7 separate regions of the Homo sapiens genome follow, and regions 1, 2, 4, 5, 6 and 7 are each linked to region 3. The links are contacts of gene promoters, found by promoter capture Hi-C in blood cells and fetal thymus (Javierre and others, 2016). All regions are on one chromosome and are shown on one strand. The core of a region is centred on a gene start or on the middle of the fragment in contact, and the rest is flanking DNA. Distances in the headings are between cores, read along the strand shown. Region 1 overlaps AREL1 (apoptosis resistant E3 ubiquitin protein ligase 1). Region 2 overlaps FLVCR2 (FLVCR choline and putative heme transporter 2). Region 3 holds the start of TMED10 (transmembrane p24 trafficking protein 10). Region 4 overlaps BATF (basic leucine zipper ATF-like transcription factor). Region 5 has its middle 8.7 kb from the start of FLVCR2. Region 6 has its middle 26 kb from the start of BATF. Region 7 overlaps TTLL5 (tubulin tyrosine ligase like 5).

Evidence for each region. The method cuts DNA at HindIII sites, captures the fragments that hold promoters and counts their contacts. A CHiCAGO score of 5 or more calls a contact.
Region 1: a contact is called between a fragment that was not itself captured here and the fragment with the promoter of TMED10 in region 3, in 1 of 17 cell types (fetal thymus). The highest score is 5.4, in fetal thymus.
Region 2: a contact is called between a fragment that was not itself captured here and the fragment with the promoter of TMED10 in region 3, in 2 of 17 cell types (M0 macrophages and monocytes). The highest score is 6.6, in M0 macrophages.
Region 4: a contact is called between a fragment that was not itself captured here and the fragment with the promoter of TMED10 in region 3, in 7 of 17 cell types (activated CD4 T cells, total CD8 T cells, megakaryocytes and 4 more). The highest score is 8.5, in activated CD4 T cells.
Region 5: a fragment that was not itself captured here is called in contact with the fragment with the promoter of TMED10 in region 3 in 1 of 17 cell types (activated CD4 T cells); the score reaches 9.6 in activated CD4 T cells.
Region 6: a contact is called between a fragment that was not itself captured here and the fragment with the promoter of TMED10 in region 3, in 5 of 17 cell types (M1 macrophages, activated CD4 T cells, neutrophils and 2 more). The highest score is 7.7, in M1 macrophages.
Region 7: a fragment that was not itself captured here is called in contact with the fragment with the promoter of TMED10 in region 3 in 1 of 17 cell types (activated CD4 T cells); the score reaches 5.0 in activated CD4 T cells.

Annotation. Positions count from the first base shown.
Region 1 is chr14:74,707,309-74,710,008 of GRCh38, forward strand. The region is part of intron 1 of AREL1 (apoptosis resistant E3 ubiquitin protein ligase 1); the gene reads right to left. Among named protein-coding and RNA genes, the nearest start is that of AREL1, 4.4 kb to the right of the region's middle. The HindIII fragment of the contact is 3,826 bases long and covers 1-2,700 here.
Region 2 is chr14:75,607,827-75,610,526 of GRCh38, forward strand. All of the region lies in intron 1 of FLVCR2 (FLVCR choline and putative heme transporter 2), which reads left to right. It also overlaps the pseudogene RNA5SP387. Among named protein-coding and RNA genes, the nearest start is that of FLVCR2-AS1, 30 kb to the left of the region's middle. The HindIII fragment of the contact is 750 bases long and covers 903-1,652 here.
Region 3 is chr14:75,175,354-75,178,053 of GRCh38, forward strand. It overlaps TMED10 (transmembrane p24 trafficking protein 10), which reads right to left and starts at 1,259. Exons shown (of 5, transcript NM_006827.6): 1 at 1,002-1,259. The coding sequence starts at 1,226. RefSeq lists enhancers at 1,083-1,655, 1,170-1,409. The HindIII fragment of the contact is 2,239 bases long and covers 1-1,425 here.
Region 4 is chr14:75,525,572-75,528,384 of GRCh38, forward strand. The region is part of intron 2 of BATF (basic leucine zipper ATF-like transcription factor); the gene reads left to right. Among named protein-coding and RNA genes, the nearest start is that of BATF, 4.5 kb to the left of the region's middle. The HindIII fragment of the contact is 156 bases long and covers 1,225-1,380 here.
Region 5 is chr14:75,568,602-75,571,301 of GRCh38, forward strand. No RefSeq gene overlaps it. Among named protein-coding and RNA genes, the nearest start is that of FLVCR2, 8.7 kb to the right of the region's middle. The HindIII fragment of the contact is 1,553 bases long and covers 529-2,081 here.
Region 6 is chr14:75,547,481-75,550,325 of GRCh38, forward strand. No RefSeq gene overlaps it. Among named protein-coding and RNA genes, the nearest start is that of BATF, 26 kb to the left of the region's middle. RefSeq lists an enhancer at 1,678-1,927. The HindIII fragment of the contact is 3,328 bases long and covers 1-2,845 here.
Region 7 is chr14:75,667,943-75,670,642 of GRCh38, forward strand. It overlaps TTLL5 (tubulin tyrosine ligase like 5), which reads left to right. Exons shown (of 32, transcript NM_015072.5): 3 at 1,474-1,580. Among named protein-coding and RNA genes, the nearest start is that of TTLL5, 8.0 kb to the left of the region's middle. The HindIII fragment of the contact is 5,520 bases long and covers 1-2,700 here.

The DNA.
Region 1 (2,700 bases), core at 93-2,592, 470 kb before region 3:
AGTGAGCCAAAATGGTGCCATTGCACTCCAGCCTGGGTGACAAGAGCGAAACTCCATTTTAAAAAAAAAAGAGGCCGGGCACAGTGGATCACACCGGTAATCCCAGCACTTTGGGAGGCCAAGGTGGGCGGATTACGAGGTCAGGAGATCGAGACCACCCTGGCTAAAATGGTGAAATCCCATCTCTACTAAAAATACAAAAAATGGCCGGGCACAGTGGCTCACACCTGTAATCCCAGCACTTTGGGAGGCCCAGGCAGGTGGGTCACAAGGTCAGGAGATCGAGACCTTCCTGGCTAACATGTGAAACCCCGTCTCTACTAAAAATACAAAAAATTAGCTGGGTGTGGTGGTGGGCGCCTGTAGTCCCAGCTACTTGGGAGGCTGAGGCAGGAGAAAGGTGTGAACCCAGGAGGCGGAGCTTGCAGTGAGCCGAGATCGCGCCACTGCACTCCAGCCTGGGCGACAGAGTGAGATTCGTCTCAAAAAAAAAAAAAAATTAGACGGGTATGGTGGCGGGCGCCTATAGTCCCAGCTACTTGGGAGGCTGAGGCGGGAGAATGGCGTGAACCCGGGAGGCGGAGCTTGCAGTGAGCCGAGATGGCGCCACTGCACTCCAGCCTGGGCGACAGAGTGAGACCTTCGCCTCAGAAAAAAAAAAAAAAAAAGAAATTACACATGATCTAACTGGAATGTGGTATTCTAGATTCAGTTTGGGTATAGAAAAAGGAAATTAGTGGAGAAACTTGTGAAATCCAAATAAAGTCTATAGTTTAGTAATAGTATTGTACCAATGTTAATTTCTTAGATGTGACAGTATGTGCCATGGTTATGTAAGAAGTTAACATTAGGAGACACCGGTGAAAGGTATACAGGAATACTCTGTACTATCTTTGCAACTTTTTTATAAATTTAAAATTATTCCACAATTTAAAACAATTTAATTACAGATGGTGCTCCCCTTTACATTCTCACTCCCCCTTAGAATTCTAATCATGTCTCCCTAATCATTGCCCCAATTCAGGTAATGCCAGCCTAAAACTTTTTAAATATCTTTTTTAACCCCTTTCTATGAACTGTTTGCACAGCCCACCTGGGATTTCTTCTTTACCAAGACATGAAAAACTAGATCACACTTGGGAAGTTTTAACTGTTTTCTGTTCCTAATAGGTTTACCATATATACCGGGGGTACCTTGAATTTGAACTTCCCAAAGCGGACAAGAGAGGGGTTAAAATAACATGCTCTGGGTCTCTGGATAAAAGCAAGGGGACATTACAGAAAATATGTTGTATATTAATAAATTATCTAATCTCTGGCCAAAAAGTACAATATATAGAAAATCAATTAACAGATGTTAACTATTGGCATCTCAACAGTAACAAGCTGCACTGAAATAAATGCCTTCGCTCTGAAAAACATGATGCAAATTGCTCAACTATTCAAGATAACAAAAACTCATAAAATCATATGGAACCGTTCAATTAGACTAAATGACAAAACATGTATCTACCATGACTATTTAGTTTCTAATAGCTAAGTGAATACCCATCTTTCTCTATAAACCCTATCTTGTAGAACAGTCTTCAAAAGAGCCACCAGGAAAACATCACTATGGTGCTGTAACACCATATCAACAGCTCAGGCATGCGTGTGTGTACACACACATACATACACACAAACTGCAATAAGGTTAAACAACCTCAAAAGTTTGAAAACTACTATATGAAAGAACATTAGTGAAGGCTAAGCATTCAGAACCCTTCAAAGAAAAAGAAACCAAAGAAAAATAACTGAAATTTAAACCCAAGTTAGTTAATAGCTAAAGTCATTTAAAAGGTAAAACGGTCAGGCACAGTGGCTCATGCCTCTTCTCCCAGCTACTCAGGAAGCTGAGGTGGGAGGATGGCTTGAGGCCAGGAGTTCAAGATCAGCCTGGGCAACATAGCAAGATCTAATAAATAATAAATAAAAGGTAAAATGATACACTAGAGTCCATTAAGGTCATAAAATCTGATCTATTACATGGTACTAATATGTTGATAGTATTAAATAAATATTACACAACAGTACTCTGACCTGGACCACTTACAGAAAGATGAACAAGAAGAGTAATTCCTCTAAAATATTTCAACTCCCACATCTCTATTCAGCCACCAACCATACTTTACCTATTTACAAGTCTTTCTGTAATACAGGACTGTGGTGAGATTGCCCAGGACAGAATGGGCCCTCAATAAATGCTTTCTGAATGAATGACCAAGCGGCAGTAATCTATCTCTGAGGTATTCTTACAAACCAATTCAATATCAAGACCTCAGAAGCAGAACATGCTGTATGCCATGCTACCACATTTAGGGGCAGGCAAGTTAATTGAAAAATAATTAACAGCGACTAATGTTTGTTGGGAGAAAAAAAGTCCTATCATGTAAGTCAGAAAAATAAATGTAAAAACTATAACTTGAAAATGGACAAAAAAGTGAATCTACTTATAACTTTCTAACATTGAAATACAAGATGTTCTTTAAGGAGTCTTTCATTATCCAGAATAATTTTACAAAGAAATTTGATACCAACTTAAATTAGTAAGTTAGACCAATTAGTGAATGGAATGAAGTCCAAGCCCAATTATGTGTTCAAACTGTGTGTCCAATGCCTTGGGTGATTTTTTCTCTTCAAGACTGCAGAAAAATGCAAAAC
Region 2 (2,700 bases), core at 28-2,527, 430 kb after region 3:
CTTAGGGAGGTTGAGGTGGGAGAATCACTTGATGCCAGGAGTTTAAGGCCAGTCTTCGCAACATAGTGAGACTCTATCTCTACAAAAATAGTTAAAAAGTTGGTTGGGTGTGGTGGCACATGCCTGTAGTTCTAGCTACTTGGGAGCTAGAGAGGATCACTTGAGCCCAGGAGTTTGAGGTTACAGTGAGCAGTAATTGCACCACTGCACTCCAGCCTGGGCAACAGTGTGAGTTCTCATCTAAAAAATCAAAAAATACTCTGGACTTGCCCTTTGACAGTAGAATAAAAAGGGCTTCTCTAGACACACATCGTGTCCTGCCTGGATTGGGGGCCATGCCCTCCATGTAGAGGGCTCAGCACTCCTGCCTTTACACCGGCTCATGGTTCAGGATAAGCTCCATCATCCTTACCGTAGGAGACTCTCTCAGAGCTTCTGGGTTTCAAAGCCTTCCTCTCATCGGCAAAGAAAGGAAGCTATACTTGCTGATTTGATCCTCTTGAGCTGAGCTGTTCGGCGGCTCCAGGAATCCTGTGGAGCATTCTGGTTCTTTTTCATTCCAGGAAACTGACCGCTTGCTGCAGAGGGGCCTTTTGCCAGGAGTGGCACGATGCAACGTTTGAGTCTATATGTGCCTAAGATGGTTCCTCTCTTCAGTGTAGGAAAATGGCTGTGGTGGCATAGCACAGAACTGATTCATCCCCACCCTCAGGACATAGGCCTGGGAGGGAGAAGTTTTATCCTGAGGGCATGGTGGTCCTGGCCCTACCAAGTTTTCTCGCAGCCCCTCACAGTTAGCAAGTGGCAATGATCGATGGTAACAAATGGGGATCGGTAGGGCTTGGACAGCCCTTGTGAAGATGTTGGAACCCTTAGGAAGATGTTGCAGTTTCCGTTCGACAAGCTTCTCTCTCCAGAATTCTTATATCTCTCCTTAGGGAGGAAGGTTCCTCATTGTCTTCCCTGGGTATGGCTGCCCCCGTATTCTCATGCTGCCCCACCAAAAGCCATGTCCTTTATTAGTGTGCCCCCATCCTGGGCCAGACCTCTGTCCCTTGCAAATAACCCACACAGTCCCCTGGCTATCACATCTTTGTCTCTGTTCTACAACAAGTTCCTTGAATCCTGCTTGTCCTGAATTGCATCCCCTCCAGCCAGCTTCCCTATGTCTTTCCAGTTGACAGCAGGCAATGAGAGAAATGAAAGCCACTAAAGAAGGCCCTCCTCCCCTTGGCCTGTCATGTGTTTTTTTTTTAGACAATGCACCATAGCCTTTATTTTATTTATTGAACAAATATTATTGAGCATCTACTCTGTGCCAAACAACAAACATTTTCACAGCTGGGGATGCAGCAATGAATGGGAAAGGGAAGGTCCCTGTTGGCAATAGCCCTCTGTTCTTGTAGAGTTCACATTGAAGGGAAGAGAGATTACACTATAAGCCAGTCACACCGGAGCGGCTAATGGTGCAAATGTCAGCCCAAGTAGGAGGGCGGGTGACTTCAAAGCAGGATATTAGGAGATGTTTTTAGCTAAGCAGGTCCCTGAGTAACTCCCTAAATAACAGGGCCAGATCTAATGGTGCTGCAATCTCTCTCTTTCTCTCTCTCAGGGCGTTATAGATGTGAGTGACTAATAGTTTTTTTGGTGTAAGCTTGAGATTTCTTTTTCTTTCCAGCTGTCTGTCTGGGATCCTGAGGCAAGCTTAGTTAACTTATGAAGTTGGCTTCTTAGGAAAAAGCTACATGGGTCCCATCCTATCTATTTCTTGAAGTGCATGCTCCAGAGGAACTGGGTTTTGCCCATGGCAGTCCATGAAGCAGCAACTCTTCCAGGGCCTGCCAGTAAGTAATTGGCAGGGTTTTACCCCTGAAAAAATCAGAATAGGAGGGCTATTACCAGAAAGTCCATCCAGATTTAGAAGGAAACATGGGAGGATTAGAAACATTGGTCGTCACGTGAGCATCCCTTTTAGGAATGCCAGAATGTTGCCTTGCAGACAAAGGAGACAATTATTCTCCTTTGGGCTGTTTTATCTGTCAAAGGTCAGGGAGTGGCACCTTTGAGTTGGGGGGGATAGATGGGGGGTTAGTGTTAAGGGAATGCAGAAGACCGGAGAATCCCTCTGTTGGCTGTTGATTGCTGGTGTCTGGGACAGAATTGGTGGGCAATCAGTGCCAAAGCATTTGAATGGCGCTTTGCACATCGCCTACTTCAAATGTGAAAACTTTGGAGTAAGATTTGCATGATGTGATCTGATGTGATCTCAGCTGGCCGGGTGGTTTGAAAGACACCCACTCATTTTTCCTCCTTCCTAGCCGAGTCATGGGGAAGTTCTGTGACCACTGGCTTTCAGCACAGTCAGCTAGAGGGACATTAATGTATTGAGGTGACAGTGATTTGTTCTCTCACTGAAAGAAAAGGCAGTGGATTCTTCACTTCTGCACCCAAAGTAGACCTAGGCTGGCCCTTTGTGGAGTTCACCATGAGGACAACTTCAAGGGGAACACCAAGTCCTTAAAAGGAGGAGTGTGTGCCAGGAAGCTCCTGAGTTCATGATGACAGAAAGCAAGCATAAATACCGGGCTTAGCTAAAAAAATAAAACACGGCCTTTGTCAGTGTTCCTTTTTTTTTCTTTAATCAGAAAACTTTCCTTGTGAAACTCATTTTCTTCACCTAAACTTAGCAACTTCTCTGTT
Region 3 (2,700 bases), core at 9-2,508:
ACCATTTTGTAACCAATAATCGACTTTAATCAACTACAGAAATTACAAATTTAAAACAAGGAAGGAATAAGGTTGCAGCGCTTTTCCCTCAACATACTTAACTACCAAACTAAGTAAGAATCTATTCCATCGCAAGGACAGAAAACCAAACACCGCATGTTCTCACTCATAGGTGGGAATTGAACAATGAGAACACTTGGACACAGGGTGGGGAACATCACACACCGGGGCCTGTCGTGGGGTGGGGGGAGGTGGGAGGGATAGCATTAGGAGACATACCTAATGTAAATGACGAGTTAATGGGTGCAGCACACCAACACGGCACATGTATACATATGTAACAAACCTGAAAGTTGTGCGCATGTACCCTAGAACTTAAAGTATAATAATAATTTTGAAAAAAAAAAAAGAATCTATTCCATCTGTGACACTTACTAGTTTATCCTACCTCTGAGTCTCAGTTTCCTCATTTGTAAAATGGGGCTAACAGTACCTACCTACTTCATAGGGTAGTGCATGAACCAAATGGTAATATATGCAAAGTAGCACAGTAACTGACACAGCAGATGCTCAATAAATAACATTTTATTAATCACGGTTAGCTCTGTCTCCTTTACTTTCCTGCAGGTATCGCGGTATCTTATGATGCCAATCCGTATAAATATTCAACACCCCAACATTTATTTGGAGAACCAAATTACGGTTCAATGTATCTGAGACCAAAACTGGTATAGGACGTTGACAACCGCCCCAGCTCAGGTGTCACCACATCCGCCAAAGCCTCGCAGCCCTTCTTGGGGTTCCCAGGCGTTGGTGACCCGCCCCGCCCCGCGACAGGCAACCAGCGGGGTGAGGGGGCGGGCTCCACCGCACGTCCTTTGCGCTCCCGGGAGGCCAGAACAACTCCCAGGCCTCCGCCGGCCCGACTCCCCCGAACCCGAGCCTCCCCTCGCCTAAGCCTGCCGTCTTCCCTCCCGGCCCCACGTCGCCCAATGCCGCACCTTGAGGTGGCTGCGCAGGCCGCCAGCGCCCCCAGACTGGTCGGAGATCTCGTACGCGCCAGTCACTAGCAGGTCCTTGTGAATCTCCTCACGGAGGCACTTGCGAGAGTTAATGGGCAGATGGAAGGAGATGGCAAGGACCAATCTGGGGCCGAGCAGGAACAAAAGCAGCAACGCTAACGGAAAAGGGCCGCGCCGGGCTGGTGGGCCAGACAAACCAGACATGGTGCTGGAGACTCGTTCACCACCGAAGGCCTCAACCGCGCCGGAACCGGGGGGACCCACGTGACTCACCTCTGACCTTCTGATGCCGTCCGCGCCATTTTGGAGACTGGCATGTAGAGAAAGACTCTATAGCGAATCTTTTGAAAAGGGAAGAAAGGATAGGTACCATGTCAAAACCGCAAGTTTAAGCAGTTAAAGAAGCTTTAATAGAATACTATTGCAACAGTTTTATTTTTGTTGAAGTTAGTGACTACTGAGTCGGCCATGGCAAGTATGGGCAGCCCTGGAAGTAATTCTCCTTTAATTTCCGAAAGATGTACCCACGAGTTTAAAGGCGAGTGACACCATAGCAACCAAGCCCCAATAGGAAACAGCCACAAGGCCCTTCGCTGGGCCCGCCCACCGGCCGCCTAGGCGCGAGGGCGGGGAATGAGGCTGTGTCTCCGGGGATGGGGCGGTTTGCAGGCACTCCCAAGCGCCTTTGACACCTTGATGACACCTGGGGCACTGAGACACTAGAGAGGAAAATTTCGAGGAAAGATTTCAACTTGGCTATTAGACAGTGTGGACCTTAGAGAAGAAGTTTTAGGGGTCACCTGATGAATGTGTGCCGGGCAGACATCCGGTTCATGTCCCATAGCAGGGTATTTGGGCTGGAGTAATTGTCTGGCTAACTGAATGTACATGGTATTATTATTATTATTATTATTATTATTATTATTATTATTTTAGCAAACATTGAATGTGTTCTAAGCTATATTCAAAATAAATTTGAATTTGGTATTTAAATTGAATAAAACAACATGTTTTGGTCCAGTCTCAGATGAACATAATTAAGGGGTTAGCAGATAAGCGTTGTCAGGGAAAGTGCGTATGTGTGTGTTTTAAGTTCACAAACACTTTAGGGATCAAATTAACTATTAACATTTGCAAATAGACAAGCAAATTGACACGGTAATAATTCATGCATTCATTCAATGGAGTACCTACTGTGTGCCAGACATTATGCTATGCATGTATGTCAACACGTTTATTGATTTAACAAACTATTACTGGGATACTAGCAAATATTCAGAGCTGAAGAATATATTAAAATAAACGGCCAGGCGCGGTGGCTCACACCTGTAATCCCAGCACTTTGGGAGGCTGAGGCGGGTGGATCACGAGGTCAGGAGTTCAAGACCAGCCTGGCCAAGATGGTGAAACCCCGTCTCTACTAAAAATACAAAAAAATTAGCTGGGCTTGGTGGCGGGCGCCTGTAATCCCAGCCACTCAGGAGGCTGAGGCAGAGAATTGCTTGAACCCGGGAGATGGAGGTTGCAGTGAGCTGAGATGGCGCCACTGCACTCCAGCCTGGGCGACGGAGTGAGACTTGTCTCAGAAAAGAAAGAAGGAAAGAAAGAAAATGGAATTGCTCCTTGGCCTTTTGGCTAACATCAAGTGTAGAAAATAAACGTGGAAGACACAATAGCC
Region 4 (2,813 bases), core at 53-2,552, 350 kb after region 3:
GAGAATCACTTGAACAGGCAGAGGTTGCAGTGAGCCGAGATCGCGCCATTGCATTCAAACCTGGGTGATAGGAGTGAAACTTCATCTCAAAAAAAAAAAAAAAAAAATAGAAGGCTCTGTAGCAGGGAATGGGCCAGGAGGCTGAACAGAGAAATGGGCCTTTCTACCCCAGGAGGGCTCAAGGGGTGGGAGAAGGCAGAGCTGTATTGGGAAAGAATTTAGAAGGTATCAAGTGCTTTGGGGACGGCCCATTGTCTCGCAGTGCAAGGACCACACATAGTCGCATCCCTTGGCAGAGACCCAAATGCCCCTGCATTTGACACAAGGAAATTCACAGGGCGCTGTACCAGATTCCTCTTTTCAGAGCATTATTAAAGTCTTATTTTGAAATTTCTGTCTTTAATGGTATCCCAAGGGGTCTATGAAAGATGCAATTTCAAGTGCCCTTATCTGGGATGATCACCATCCTAGTTGAGTTGCCTCTAGTCCCAAATTTTTCTAGAGAAAGCTTTTACCTCTGTCTTGAGTGGTCCAGGGGCCTTGAGCAGTGCTGAACTGCAGTTCCGCCAGTGGCCAAGGCCCTAGATGGTGTTTCTAGGTTCTGGCTGTGCCCCTTATAAAGTACTGCTTCCTCCCCATTGCTCATACCTTACCACCTTACCTCTCTTCACTCTGCCCCCAGTATGGTTCTTGTTCAACCAACTCTTCACTAGTTCCTTTCTCTCCATCCCCTCATCCCCTTCCCTAGCAACTCTACCTTCCTGCCCTTGCTCCAGAAACATTCCCTTACCTCTAATAGCCTAGCAATTCCTTTCCATGGAAAAAGTGCAATTGGCACCAAAAATCAATAAGCTTGTATTTATCTGGAAGATTAGCATGATAATCAGCCAGTTAGAATGGCTGTGTTAACCGTATCAAGAATAAGTAAGTAAGATGTAGTTTTAGGGGAAATAATGCATCTTTCAGCTTTACAAGGAAACAGAGCAGACTGCACCAACAGCTCTGATTGGGTGCTTGGGTTTTATTTGAAATGTATTCAGCTTACACTCCATTGCACACTAACATTAAATTCACAGCTATTTGTTAACTTTTTGGAAAGAATGAATGAACAGAAAGTCTGTACTAACTGTGCTCAACAGTCTGAATGTCAAGTTTTTGGTGGCCCTGCTGCTTGTATGTTCTCCATGATTTCACTGTGTCCCCACATTCTGGTTTACCACCTTAAGCTTGAACATCTATGATCCTTACCTCTTTCTCTATCAGAGTCTGATTCTGATTCACTATTCTTTAGGGCAAGCAAACAGACCAATCAAAATTTAAAAGGATAAAATCTTCCTTGTGTACAAGTAGACAATGTCCTCAGACTGGCAAACTGCTGTAAGCTTTTTAAGTGTGTACCTGTTTTCTTAAGTGGAATGTAAGTATAGTTCGGCAGCTCAGCAGTCAGAACAGGGATTGAATCCCAGCCCTGCTGCCTACTATCTGTGTGACAGAGACGTTCTTGGCCTCCCTTGGGCTTGGTTTCCTTATCTAGAAAATGGAAAATGACAATAACTACCCTATACAGATCGTACATTTAAAGAGCCCAACACAATGCCTGTCATTCATAAATACTCAAAAATTTAAGTATAATAAGAGTAATAATAATTATCATAAGAAGCAAGATAATCACAAATTATACACACATTTTATATATATATGAAAACATATATACATTTTGTGTATATTTAATCACAGAAGCTCAGGGTTGAAAGGTTTCTTAAAGGCTAGAAAGTTTAGACATAAGTTTGATGCTTCAGACTTCTCTGCAACACCTCCAGCCAATGGTCCCATTGTATGCCTGGTCACTTCTAGGGCTGGAGATCTTCCTCTCTCCCAATTTATGAACAGAAGAGTCTTTCCTATGTTAAGCTGCACCCCTGTCTCCCTGTAAATTCAACTCACTGGTCTTCATCCAAACCCTTGGGGAACGTATTAATGAGGGTGACACAGATGTCTCTTTGCTGCGGCAAGGCTTTCAGCACTGAATCAGCTCTCTCCCTCTCCAAGACAAATGTCAGAGCCCAAAGAGTCAGCTCATCTAATTATACAAGTCATGTGACATTAGGGTAATCTCTAGAGCTTGAGGGTCCACAGAGCCCCAAGTCATATAGTCAACATATCCATAGCCACACCCCAGCCTCAGTTTCTAGAATGTTCCAATCTTCCCCACATCTGAACACAGATTCCTCCTCCACTGCTTTCTTTTGAGCACCACAGCATCGTCTTTACCTTTTGCCCAATGAGTAGGTCGCAGCGGAGTTGATGCAGCAAGCCTGCGGACTGCTGCCAATGCAACTTATGTTTCTTGGCTTCAGGTAGAAGCTTTTGGCAGCAACGTGTTCAATCTGCCCTACATCAAATTAGCTGTGGTTTGACATCTTCCTTTCCTCCGAGATGACAATCACCTATCTTCTCCATCCATTATCCTCTTAATTATGTCTGAGATTCAGGTGAAAAGTCTTCTGGTTTACCACCAGTGTCAGGGCTCAGTGTGTGGTTTGCCCTTGACTCCTTTCCATGCTTGGCTCCACATGCTGGGGTTGTTCTCTGGCCCTCAGACATGGCCATAGGCCTCGCCTACCAGTGCTTTACAGATGAGGGTTTGGGAGCTACTGAGAGTACCATATCAAAAAAGGACCACATTCCTATTAGGGTTCTAGCCTCATATATACTGGTATGTTTTCTTAGTTTCAACTGCTGTCACTATTATCAACCTTAAAATACTGAAACAATTATCTTGTTCCTCTAGTGAGAGTGTGGGATGCTTACTA
Region 5 (2,700 bases), core at 55-2,554, 390 kb after region 3:
TTGCCACCACGGTCATGGTTGATGAGGCTGGGAATGGGCATCTGGGAGTTTGTATTTAAGACACAAAGGGCAGCTTCTCTCGGGCAGCTGAAGCTGTCATGAGGTGTAATGCCAGGGCTGCTGGCTGCCATGTTTTCTGACAAATGGAGAAACTAGCCTTTAGGAAGAGAGAAAATGCAAGCTGGCCTGCAGGGAACATGGGAGAAGCCGAGCATCCTGAATGTGTTGCAGTCCTTGGTTCTCTCTGCTCTTCTGCTACTTGACCACCAACTCCTCTTGAGGTCTCTGAGAACCTCACCTCCCCCAGCCGCCGATGTTCTTCAGATGTACTATCTCTGAGCTTAGGCTGATGAAAGCTGAGCGTCTGTCATTTGCAATCAACTCAGCAGTGAAAAGAAAAAAAAAACCTGGGGGTACAGTCAGCACTTTCGGTTTTCTCATCTGAGACACTAGAACACACTTTCAGGGACTACTCGGGGCCCAGGGAGGCTGATGGCATCAGGGGGACTTCACACAACTACTGACTTAAGCTTAAAGGGAACCCATAACTATCTGGGTTTTATTTTGGAATTGTTTGTTTATTTCTAATTCTTCTGTTCACAGAATTCAGGGGAACCTGAGCCAAGTGTCCTACCTGTAACCTTGAGGAGGCACCATGCCAAGGAGTGAAAGATGAGGTGAGGAACTCAGGACGCCTTACTTTCCATAGAATTTGATGATTGGATTTTCATGGGAATTCACACTCTGAATTGGAAGTAGGTTCTCTGGCCTCTTGATCTTGTGGTGACAGAGGTCACTGTAGGGAAGGGGTAGAAGGAAGAATAAAGGAATGAGGAGGAAGAGAAGAGCAGGAGGCACGGGTACACAGGCACCTGTCCTTGACAGCCTCGCTTCCCTCTGCGGAAGATCTCAATGTCGAAGCTGGGATTCTCCCTCCAGATGGCAGCTCCATCTGCCCAGCTGGTCACATCTGAAACCCAGGCAGGGCATTCTCCTGACCCCTCCCTCTCCATCCTCCTGCAATTCCAGTCTAGTCCACCCCCATCTACCCCTGCTCACTTCTCTCCATTGTCTTGCCATTGCCCTCATTCAGTTCACAAATTCCATTCTCACCTGAGTGACCATAGCAGCCTCCTAAGAGGGCCATCCCCACCCAAACTGGATTTGCCACAAGCCCAGCTGGAGCAGTCTGTACAGGAGACAAATCTGACAATGTCCTTCATCTGCTTAAAACCTCCCAACGGCTCCCCTTTGCTCCCAGGATAAAGTTAACAAACAAAAACAGAAAAGCCCTCAATAAGGCCCGTGCAATCTGGCTGCTGCCTCTCTCTCCAACCACGTTGGCTTTGCTTCTCACCCTCACTCTGCTCCAGCCTCATTGGCTTTGTGGCTTAAAAGGGCCCTGCTCCCTCCTGGTTCAGGGCCTTGCACATTCTGTTCCCTCTTCCTGGAAAGCCCTTCCCCCCTCTTTCACCAAGTTAAGTCTCACTTTTATTTTATTTTTATTTTTATTTTTTGAGATGGAGTCACTCTGTCACCCAGGCTGGAGTGCAGTGGCATGCTCTTGGCTCACTGCAACCTCTGCCTCCCAGGTTCAAGCGATCCTCCTGCCTCAGCCTCCAAAGTAGCTGGGACTACAGGCACCTGCCACCATGCATGGCTAATTTTTTTTGTATTTTTAGTAGAGACCGAGTTTCACCATGTTGGCCAGGCTGGTCTCGAACTCCTGGCCTCAGGTGATCCAGCCCCCTCAGTCTCCCAAAGTCCTGGGATTACAAGCATGAGCCATAAGTCTAACTTTTTAAAAACGTATTGCTTAAGATCCCACTCATCTGTTCCATCTATATAAATTCTTACAAATAACCCTCATAGCACTTATAATTTTACTTATGTGTGTATGTAAGTGTTTGATTGATGTTTGTCCTCTCAAGGACACTGTAAGCTCCATGAAGGTAGGGAGGGACCACGTTTGTTTTGCTCACTCCTAGGATCTTCAGCACCTGCCACAGGGCCTGGCTAAGTCTCATCTATCCCTCAAGATCCCGACCTAGCATCTCTCTGAGAAGCCCCCCTTGACTCTAAGCTTTGGGAGTCCCATGAACCAGCATGGACCACACATTTATTGTACCACCTGGCAATGATCTGCTCACATAACTGTCTCACCACTACTTTGTGGATTCTTGGAGGGCAAGAGCCTCATCTTTGTTGAATTTGTTTCCTTTACACCCAGCACAGTGCCTGGCCTGCAGGAGATCAATGGTGGGTAAATGAATGACTCTGTTAAGACAGTCCCCTGGGCCCAGGTATTATACCCTGTACATCAAGGGGCTGGCTGAGATGACTTTGTGTGTCCTTTCTCTGTCACTGTGGCTCCAGCATTGCATAACCCTGCCCAGCCAGCACCCCTCTGCTTTGTCATGCCATGTGCCTTTAACTGTTGCCCTGGCAATCAACAAATCTTGCTGCTACCCCCGTTTCTCTATTCCATTATGAAAAGGGAGCCTCACACCTCCGGGCTTTCTATAGATTATGCAAAAAGACAAGCCATTTTAATGTCTCCTTCCTCTTTGACTCATGTTTTTTAGTTAGCTCTTTCTCATATTTATGGGGCAACTTTTTTTTTTGGTTTTCTAATTATTAAGAAGCATTTAAAATATAGAACAGGTATGAAGAATAACACAGTGGCCACCCATGATCACA
Region 6 (2,845 bases), core at 88-2,587, 370 kb after region 3:
TCCTGGCCTGAAGTGATCCACCCGCCTGGGCCTCCAAAGTGCTGGGATTACAGGCATGAGTCACCATGCCCAGCCTAGGTGTCTTCTGGATTGCCCTCCCATGCTCCCCTCACGGTGACCTCCCACCTTCCATTCTTCACTGCTTTCTAGACCATGAGCAGGTTGTCCCCTAGTCCGGGAGAAGGCCCAGTGCAGGATGGCCTCACCTGGTGAGGTGGTAAGTCAGGTTGACCTTCTCGTCTCCCACTCATGACTCCACTCACCCAGCCAACTGGCTCCATCCTGACAGCCAAGTCTCCGGATGCTGCAACCAGGCCCTGTGCCAGGCTGCCCTTCACATGGAAGGCGGTGTCTTCCTAATGCTCTCAAGGGGCAACATGCAGCTTGGGTCCACAGGGACTTCTCTGCCAGTGGTGTACATGTCCTGCTGAAGACTCCACCTCCCTTAGAAGGCGGTGATACAGAGCACAGGACTTGTCCTGTCCCCGCAGGGCTCCGCAGGCTGCCATTTGAGCACTTTGAGGGCTCAGGGAACACAGGGTCATCTTCAGTTTGGCAGAGCCTGAAACCAGCATGCTCCACCCCCCTGCTCTTCAGAGATCCCCAGGCCAAGTGCCTGCTGGCCTGCCTGACACAGCCTTACCCACACCACTGCCCACGAGCAAAGCCTGCAGCAGGGCCTGGCCACACACAACCCCTGCTGAGCCAGCTGGAGACAAAAGCAACGGAGATCATTGTGCCAGGCGCCCACCTGATTGAGCTCCTTCAGTAGCCACCCTCAGTCTCATCCATTTGTCCTTTAGAGGGACAGCCTCTGCCTGCTGCCTCCCCGGTGGCATCCCTCATGGGGTGACAGAAGGGAGGAGAAGTCCTGCTTCCCTGTGTCAGTGCCCCCTGAACCCGCTGGCCAACCACTCTGGCCGGTTTGAGGCCAAGTTTCAACTCTAGACCTCCCCTGTGTGTGTCTCTCCTGCCCCTCTCAGATGATGCCAGTGTTGGGCTATTGTGATTATTAAATGCCATAGAAGTTTGGATGAGCTGCATCCCAGCAGGTGGTGGGGTCACAGCCCCTTGGGAGGAGTCCAACCCAACAGCCTCTGATGGCACATTGCAATCTTTGGGGCTCTCACCAGAGAAGCTGGTGCCCATGGGAGCCTAGGATGTGGACACTGGGCTGAGCCCCGTAATTCAGAGCCTGGGAAGACAGCCCAGAAGACGTTCCCTGAGTGCTGGCATTTCTCCCAGCACAGAATCTTGCATTGTAACCTTTGGTCTCCCAACGAAACGTGGCAAAACAGGCTCCCCTTTCAGTGCAGAGCCTCCATGTGGACTGGGCAGATGTGTCATGAGGAGGAGCTTTCTTAATTTCCTTCAGAACCTGGATTTTGGTAGCTAACGCTCTGTCTAGCTCTTTCCCACCCCTCTGTTAACGAGAAGAGCAAAGAAGCCGATCTTCACTTCAGATGTTGCAGTCATAAAATATAATTCATTTTTCTTTCATAATTATTATTTTTTCTTTTTTTGAGACACGGTCTCACTCTGTCACCCAGGCTGGAGTGCAGTGGTGCAATCATGGCTCACTGCAGCCTTGACTACCCACACTCAAGCGATCCTCCCACCTCAGCTTCCCAAGGTGTTGGGATTACAGGCATGAGCCATTGCACCTGGCCTTCTTTCACGATCTAAAGACGTAGAACTTTGAGTCCAGCTTTCTTTGCTACTATCTCTGCCAGGGCCTGGCCTCTTGTGGGCAGGCTTTCTTTGAATCAGAGATTTTCATCTCCACCCATGCTCTAGCACTGTGATTTTCCCCAGAAACCCCCACAGAAGGCACATGACTTCTGCCGGCATCTTCTGAATGACATTCAGGGCCAGAACTAGAAAAGCAGAGTTCACGTGCACGGTTCCCATCTCTCAGCAAGGACTTCTCTTCCCCTTTCATTCTCTACTTTCTACTGACCCCAGGCAGTTCCACTTCTCCTGTCTAGTCAGCCCGGTAGAGGTAGCAGGTAGCTGAGCCTGGAGCTGGTGCCAAGGCTGACTTCATGTCCATGCAGGCAAATTGGAGAGGCAGCCATGAATAGAAATTTGAACATCCGTAGCTTTAACCTTGGATGTTTCACCAACCAGGTTCTGTCCCAGCCTTCTACCCATGACAGGGATGGCTCCCTCAGTCTGGTGGGCCACTTGACCCACACTCAAACGCCTTCTACCCAGGCAGGCACTGTGAAAGCATGGGACCCACTGGATGTAGGGCAATTGGGAGTGGTGGAGAATGTGGCAAACTAAGGAGAGTGTGCAGCTGTCTGTCGTTCAGTTCTCTCCCATGGTGCCATGTGGGAATTTAGGCCTGGGCTTGCCATGTCTTCCAGTTTGTCAAGAAAAGCCAAAATCAGAATTTCTACATGAAATCTCTCAATTCTTTTTTTCTTCCCTTCCCTTTCTTCCTCCCTCCCTCCCTCCTTCCTTCCCTTCCTCCCTCCCTCCTTCCCTCCCTCCCTTCCTTCTTTCTTTTTTTCTTTCTTTCTTCCTTCCTTCCTTTTTTTCCTTTCTTATTCCTTTCTTCCTTTCTTTCCTCCTTTCTTTTTGCTTTCTTTCTTTCTTTCTTTCTTTCTTTCTTTCTTTCTCTCTTTCTCTCTTCTTTTCTTCTTTTCTTTCTTTCTTTTCTGACAAGGTCTCACTCTGTGGCCCAGGCTGGAGTGCAGAGCTGCTGTCATAGCTCACTGCAGCCTCGACCTCCTGGGCTCAAGCAATCCTTCCACCTCAGCCTCCCAAGTAGCTGGGACTACAGGGGCATGCCACCACACCCAGCTATTTTTTTATTTTTGTTTTTTTCATTTTTCTG
Region 7 (2,700 bases), core at 9-2,508, 490 kb after region 3:
TAGAGACGGGGTTTCACCATGTTGGCCAGGATGGTCTCGATCTCTTGACCTCGTGATCTGTCTGCCTCGGCCTCCCAAAGTGCTGGGATTACAGGCGTGAGCCACCGTGTCCGGCCCGAGTGTGGATCTTTTTAAAGTTGGATTGGGAGGGGCTGACTTGGCCCTGAGATTTGTGGTATGACCTTTGTTAAGGGATGTGGTTATGTGAGTTTTTAAGAGTCGAGTGAATCTTGGCCAAGTGGATTGTATTGCATTTAAGGAATTATCAGTTTAAGTTCCCAAATAATTGAATTCAAGGTATCCAATATATACAACTTTGCTGAAATGCGATTAGGGAGGCAAACAGTAGAAAGAATACAGATGTTAGGTTCAAATACCTCATCCCTTACTTAACCAGCTATATGACCTTAGGCAGGTTACTTAACCTTTCTGAGACAGTTTTCCTGCAGTTCATAGTATGGGCAGGGGGATTAAGTGAGATATGAGAGCTCTTAGTTTAAATCCTGGCACATAGTAGGGACTCAGTTCATTTAATTTTATTTCTCTTCCTACCTCCCTGCCCTAATGAGGGTGAAGGTTTTTCTGATCTGTGAGTAAATATTCATCAGCCTAAAATTAAGCTGAGATTTCCTGAGGATAGGGAAAGAGAATAAAGTCAGAGGTCTTTTTCTCCCCTGTGGTTTTATACTGGAGGAAAATATATATTGTTCCATTTAGCATGGGCTTCCTTTAAAATATGTGATTTTAATTGGGATACTTGTATTAATTTAGAGTTCCTAGTTCAGAGTCTTAGGATGCATCATCAAATTGGCTTGAAAATGGACTATAGCGTGTAAAAGGAGTATGTAAATTATTGTGAACTCATCAGTTAGGATTCTTTATGTGTGCAAAGGATTACAACATAATCCAAATGGTCCTAAGTAATAAAGAGAATACTTTCACTCATATTCAGGCATATCTTGATTCTGAAAATCCCACTTTATCTCTTCAGTCAACCTCCTGCTGACTTTCTCCTTCACCAACAGCTACAGGCTCTTCTTTCAAGGTCACAAAATGGTTGTTGCCCTTCCAGACTTCTCATTCTCATCCTATACCATCAAGAGGAAGACAGGCTATCATCTGTAGCCATTATAGAAGAGAAAGAAACCATTGCTTTCTCACAGAGTCCAGAACATGTCTCCTTAAACTTATGGGCTCCAATTGGTTTATGTGCCTATCTCTGAACCACTAATTATACTGGATGATGAAGTATCTTGATTGGCTGAAACCAATCAAGGCCCATCCCTGAACCAGGGATAGAGTTAATTTTAAACACACAGCTAAGAATGGGAGATGTGATTTCCCACAGGATATTTGGGATTTGTATTCCAGAAGGAAGGGGAAACTTGCTAAGCAACAAACCATAGTAATCTGCATCAGCAGTTAGTTCAGGTTTTGAGCTGTAAATTAATGAAGGCTTTTTTGTCGTTATAGGGATCATCCATGCATCATGTGGACTGGAGGCTGCAGGAGAATTCCAGTTTTGGTATTCCATGCCGACGCTATTCTTACAAAGGACAACAATATTAGAGTAATTGGAGGTGCGTATAACCTCTCCCACAGAGGACGGAGCTGGGCATGGCCCAGACGTCCTTGTCTTAAAGAAGTTGATATGACATATATATAGGGAAAGGGCCTTGGCCATGAGAAAAATCAATTGAGTTGTTATACTTCAAACATTATAATTTCTTAAATTGTTTTCTGCTTATGTTTTTCCTCTGATTTTTTTTCAAGAATATTGTGTACATGTGTTTTTTTTTTAATTGTGGTAAAATACACCTAACAAAATTTACCATTTTAACCATTTTAGAGTGTACAAGTCGTTGTTGTTTAGTACATTCACAATGTTGTGCAGCCGTCACCACTGTTTAGTTCCAGAACATTTTCATCATCTCCAAAGTACAGCCAATACCCATTAAGCAGATATCCCCAGCCCCCATACCACCAGTCCCTGGCAACCACTCATCTATTTTCTGTTTTTATAGATTCCCATATTCTGGATGTTTTATATAAATGGAGTCATGTGATATGTGACCTTTTTTGGCAGGCTTCTTTTCACTTAGCATAATGTTTTTGAGGTTCATCCATGTTGGAGTATATATCAGTCCTTTATTCCTTTTTATAGCTGAATAACATTCCATTGTATATGCTAATGAATGCATTCCAATGATACACCACATTTTGTTTATCCAGTCATCAGTTGATGTACATTTTTTTTGTTTCCACCTTTTTTTTTAATTTTGTTTTTAAAATTTATTTATTTTTTAGATACAGGATCTCACTGTGTTGCCTATGTTGGTCTCAAACTCCTGGCCTTAAGCAATCCTGCCTTGGTTACATGCATAATCCACTGTGTCTGGCCTTTTTCCACCTTTTGTCTGTTGTGAATTGTGCTGCTATGAATGTTCACGGAAAAGTCGTTTGGACACTTAATCTTCAGTTCTTTGGGGTATACCTAGGAATGGAATTGCTAGGCCATATGGTAATTCTGTGTTTAACTTATTCCGTGTCAAACTGTTTTCCATAGCAGCTGTACCGTTTTACATTCCCGTCAACAACGTATAGGGGTTCCAGTTTCTCCACATCCTCACTAACATTTGATATTTTCTGTTTCTTAGATCATAGCCATACCAGTGAATGTGATGTGGTATCTGGCTGTGG